Regions from separate parts of the Homo sapiens genome. Here region 2 is linked to region 1. The links are contacts of gene promoters, found by promoter capture Hi-C in blood cells and fetal thymus (Javierre and others, 2016). All regions are on one chromosome and are shown on one strand. Each heading gives the region's core, a stretch centred on a gene start or on the middle of the fragment in contact. The rest is flanking DNA. Distances are from core to core; before and after follow the strand shown.

Evidence for each region. Contacts are between HindIII fragments. The CHiCAGO score rates a contact against its expected background, and 5 or more counts as called.
Region 2: a contact is called between a fragment that was not itself captured here and the fragment with the promoter of MEOX1 in region 1, in 1 of 17 cell types (megakaryocytes). The highest score is 5.7, in megakaryocytes.

Annotation. Positions count from the first base shown.
Region 1 is chr17:43,660,485-43,663,237 of GRCh38, reverse strand. MEOX1 (mesenchyme homeobox 1) reads left to right here and starts at 1,316. Exons shown (of 3, transcript NM_004527.4): 1 at 1,316-2,172. The coding sequence starts at 1,704. RefSeq lists an enhancer at 2,022-2,563. The HindIII fragment of the contact is 18,347 bases long and covers 893-2,753 here.
Region 2 is chr17:43,761,687-43,764,439 of GRCh38, reverse strand. No RefSeq gene overlaps it. Among named protein-coding and RNA genes, the nearest start is that of SOST, 4.3 kb to the right of the region's middle. The HindIII fragment of the contact is 6,558 bases long and covers 1-2,753 here.

The DNA.
Region 1 (2,753 bases), core at 67-2,566:
TGGAGTTTCTGGATTAAAGGCCAGTCGTGGCTTCATTCCACATCCCTGGGTGCCCTTCGGCTCCTCCTAGGAGCATCTCCTGCACCCACCCCCCAGGGCCCCACCTCCAGGCTGCAGAGCTAAGACCTAGGGGCCCCTCCTCAGGGAACCCTCGCCGTCTTTGGAAGCAGCCAGCAGAGACGCTGCTGTTAAGGTCCATGCCTGTTTCTGCCCCCATCCTGCTGCTCTGGGCCATGGGAATAACCAGTGGGGAAGGAGTTCTGGCCCCTGGGTGTTAGGAATGTCGTCCTCCAAGAAATTGCATTAACCCTCTGAGAGACCAGCAGGGCGCAGCCATGAGGAAGACTGGGCATCAAGATGGCACTTGGGCTGGCTGCCCTGTGATGTGCACCAGCCCGGAGACCCACGTGCCTGCTTGCCAAAGAGGCTCCTTTGGGGAATGAGGAGCCCCTGATTCCTATTTCCCTACCCCAAATTCCTCGGAAGCCTCCGCCTCTGGGGGATGAGAAAGGGAAGCAGGTGGGTGGAGGTGAAGGGGGCAGGGAGCAGGTGGGAGGAGACCCGAAGAAACTTCAAGGACCTTATTTAAGAGCCTTGCCATTGCTGTGAAGAAAAATGACTTGAAACCTCTCTAGAGAAGAGTGTGGCTAATTGGCATGTATGTTGGAGGTTAAAGAGCGGAAGGAAGAATCTGATTGTTTTTTTAAGTTACTGAGAAAGTGAGAATGTCACTCTGGGCAGAGAGAAATTCTTTTTTTCTAGAGTGTGCCTTTCTTTGTACTGCAGACCACAGTGGGCCGCTGAGACTTGCAAAAAAGATTTCTTTTAATCCACCTTCCTTTTTCGCAGGCAGCAGTAGAAGGGCCTTTAAATCAAATGCAATCACCAAGCTTGTCTCTTGCTCTTATTCCTCACTTCACTCCCTGGAATTTGGCATTTGATGGATTCTGGATCTGACTTAAGGCTTTTTCTAAATCCAAGACTTGGGGAATTTTGTTAACAGTGCAATAAAAATAACTTCATAGTGTTACAGGAGGCACATTAAAGACGGTGTGTGTGTATGTGTGTGTGTGCTGCTCTCTTTCCTTAAAAAAAAAATACAGACAATGTTTCTTTAAAAGTCTCCATCTGCAAATCCCATTAGATGTGCATATAAGGTTTCTGATGATTAATAGTTGCCTGCTAGGGTTTTGGTTGGAGGGGATCTTGTGTGTGTGGGTTAACCCCTCCCTCTCCTCTCTCACATTTCACTTCAGAAATTTGTCACTCTCTCCCCACCGCAGGATTTAAAAGTGTGTCCCAGCAGCCCTGGTCCAGCCCTCTGCAGGCATTTGCTCTGGGCTCCAGGACGAACTCCTCGTCAGCTGGTGCGTCTGGGTTGGGACAGTGAAAATGTTTAGTGTCATTGGCGACAAATACACATACAGGGGATCCCAGTAGGTAGGCTGGTGCATTGGAGGGGCAGGAGCAAGCCCGACATAGGTGTGTGCACACACATAGGAGTAGCTGGCCACATGTGTGTGTACTTTAAGGAGAGACTTTAGTTTTGGGTTTTTTTTTTTTTTTGGTTCCTGGGGTAAATTTTCTGTTGAACATTTTTCCCTCCTATTTAGTTTTTTTTCTTTTGCATTTTTAAAAATTTGAACATAAAAAGTATAAAGAATCAAATCTTTGAAAGGACCGAGGCGTGCAGCGGACAGCAGATGGATCCCGCGGCCAGCAGCTGCATGAGGAGCCTCCAGCCCCCAGCCCCTGTCTGGGGCTGCCTTCGAAACCCCCACTCGGAAGGCAATGGGGCCTCAGGGCTACCCCACTACCCGCCCACCCCGTTCTCCTTCCACCAGAAACCAGACTTCCTGGCGACAGCGACGGCAGCGTACCCTGACTTCTCAGCCTCCTGCCTGGCAGCCACCCCACACAGCCTGCCCCAGGAGGAGCACATCTTCACTGAGCAGCACCCCGCTTTCCCACAGTCCCCCAACTGGCACTTCCCTGTCTCAGACGCCCGGCGCAGGCCCAACTCAGGCCCGGCAGGGGGTTCCAAGGAAATGGGGACCAGCAGCCTGGGCCTGGTGGACACCACAGGAGGCCCAGGCGATGACTACGGGGTGCTTGGGAGCACTGCCAATGAGACAGAGAAGAAATCATCCAGGCGGAGAAAGGAGAGTTCAGGTAGGTGGCTCAGGAGCAGCTGATCATTCCTTTACTGTGTGACCCTGGGGAAGTTACTCACCCTCTCTGTGCCTAGGTGCTCTGAGCATGAATTTCTGTCTAGTCCATCCAAATGCAGGAGACTGGACCAGTTACCTTTGGGGTTTCTTCCACTGAGAGTTCTAGGATTCTCTGGTGATGGGGACCATGTCTGTGTCCCAGCACTCCTGGGCCCCAGAAAGGGTGTCCAGCAAGAGAATGAAACAGGATCAGCCAGGATTTGGAGGACACGTGAAATGGATCCTCTGGGTGCAGACTGGCGAGGGCTGGTGAGGGGCTTTCCTGAATCAGGCTGCCATTGAGTCATCCTCCTCCCCACCATGCTTTGGCCAGCCCCAAGTGGTCCTAGAGCCACAGGGCTCGCTTACCAGGGAAGTTCAGCTGAGGTTAAGGCTCTGAGAGCTAAGACTGAAGCTGGGACCCTGGGTGGCCACCCAAAGCCAAGACCCTATGTGTCCAGGAGCCTAGAGGCAGAGAAGCAGGCCTGCGGCTGGGATGGGAGAATCAAGGGGTGAGGGGGAGATGGAGGGCTGAGGTTTGGG
Region 2 (2,753 bases), core at 152-2,651, 100 kb before region 1:
AAATACAAAAATTAGCCAGGTGTGGTGGTGCTCACCTGTAATCCCACCTACTCGGGAGGCTGAGCCAGGAGAATCACTTGAACCCAGGAGGCGGAGGTTGCAGTGAGCTGAGATCACGGCACTGCACCCCAGCCTGGGAGACAGAGTAAGACTCCGTCTTAAGACAAAACAAAACAAAAAACCTGTACAAAATGTTTATACCACCTCTATTAATAATTGCCAGAGCTTGAAAGCAACCAAGATGTCCTTCAGTAGATGACAGTAGGTGACTAGATAAACCGTGATACATCAAGACGATGGAGTATTACTCAGTGCTAAAAAAAAAAAATAAGCTGTTCATGCCATGAAAAGACATGGAGGAACCCCAAATGAATATTACTAACTGAAAGAAGCCAATCTGAAAAGACTATGTATGGGTATATTCCAACTCTATATGACATCCTGGAAAAGGCAAAAATAAAGGTACAGTAAAAAGATCAGTGGTTGCCAGGGGTTGGGGAAAGTCGGGGAGGGATGAATAGGCAGAGCAGATAGTTTTTTTGGACAATGAAAATACTGCCCATCTGTATGATACTATAATGGTAGATGTATGTCATTATACATTTGTCCAAAGCCATAGGATGTACAACACTAGTGCTGTGATGTAAACCATGGACTTCAGGTGATAATGATGTGTCATGTAGGCTCATCAATCATAGCAAATGCACCACTCTGGTGGCGGGATGTTGATAACGGGGGCAGCTGTACATGTGTGGGCACAGGACATAAATGAGAAATCTCTGTACCATCCACTCAGTTTTGCTGTGAACCTAAAAGTGCTCCAGAAAAAAAATAAAGTTTTTTTTAGAAAAAAGCATCTGAACCTTTTTTTCAGTGGCATTGATCACCTTCCATCTGGTAGTGGAGTTGTTTGGATGCGGAAATTATTTCTTCCATGGTATGCGAGCTCCTGGAGAGGGAGTGCGTGTCCCCCTTGCTTTATTAAACGTTTGGCGAGTGAACATCGGAAGAAGCAACTCGACAGAAACAAAAGCTGGTAAATAATCACATGGAAAAGCAGCTTTTCTGGAAATTAAGTTTCAACTGTTAAATTCAATGTTTAAAAAAATCGGCTGGGTGCGGTGGCTCCCGCCTGCAATCCCAGCACTTTATGGGATTGTGGGAACACCTGATGTCAGGAGTTCAAGACCAGCCTGGCCGACATGGCGAAACCCCATCTCTACAAAACAAATAAAAAAAATGCAAAAATTAGCTGGGTGTGGTGGCGGGAGTCTGTAGTCCTAGCTACTCGGGAGGCTGAGGCAGGAGAACTGCTTGAACCCAGGAGGTGGAGGTTATATGAGCCAAGATCACACCACTGCACTCCCGCCTGGGTGACAGAGCGAGACTCTGTCTCAAAAAAAAAAAAAAAAAAAAAAAAAAAAATCAACATCCCAAACCCAGTGTTGACAGTCTTATTTATGGGTTGAACTGCATTCCTCCCAAATGCATATATTGAAGTCCTAAGTCACAGTACCTGAGAATGTGACCTTATTTGGAAATAGGGCTATTACAGATGTAACTCGTTAAGATGAGGTCATTAGGCTGGGCCTAATCTAATATGCCTGACCTCCTTAGAAAAAAGGGAAAATTCGAACACAGAGAGAACACCATGTGAAGATGAAGGCAGGGATTGGGGGTGACACTTCTGCAAGCCAGTGAATGCCACAGCTTGTCAGCAGCCAGCAGAAGGCAGGTAAAAGGCCTTCCTCGCTGTCCTCGAAGGAACCAACTCTGCCAATGTCTTGAACTTGCACTCCTAACCTCCAGCTCTGTGAGACGACTTCTGTTGTTTATGCCACCCAATTTGTGGTACTTAGTTACGGCAGCCTCATCAAAGTACCACCTATGGGAGCCTCTATTTTGCAGGTGAGGGCGGGGACTGGGCTTTTTCTGGAAAACAGCCCTGCAATACCCTCATCAGACCACCAAACTCTTCACACTCCCTCAGACACAGCATTCACTTCCAGAAATAACTCTAAAGTTTTGTTTTGTTTTTTTAAACTTTGTGGAATACTACTCAGCCAAAAAAAAAAAAAAGAAAAGAAAAAGGAACATGTTACTGATATGTACAACTTGGATAATGGAAATAATGCTGAGTGAAAAAAAAATCCCCAAAGGCTACATACTAATTGATTCCATTTATATAACCTTTTTTTTTTTTTTTGAGACAGTCTCACTCTGTCACCCAGGCTGGAGCACAGTGGCGCGATCTCAGCTCACTGCAACTTCCGCCTCCTGAGTTCAAGCGATTCTCTTGCCTTAGCTTCCCAAGTAGCTGGGATTACAGGTGCGTGCCACCATGCCCAGCTAATTTTTGTATTTTTAGTAGAGACAGGGTTTCGCCATGTTGGCCAGGCTGGTCTCGAACTCCTGACCTCAAGTGATCTGCCTGCCTTGGCTTCCCAAAGTGCTGGGATTACATGAGTGAGCCACCGCACCTGGCCGCATTTATGTAACAATTTTGAAGTGAAAAAAAAAAATGACAGAAATGGAGATTAGATGAGTAGTTGCCAGGGGTTAGTTGTGGGAGGGAGGGAAAAGGAGGGAAGGAGGTGGGCAACAGGAGAAAGACTTGTGGTCACAGAGCTGTGCTTTATCTTGACTGTGGTGGATCCCCAAATTTACCCGTGACAAGATTGCATAGAACTAAGTATACACACACGTGAATGCGTGTGCACGCACACAGTAGAGGTTAAACCACGGGAGATGTG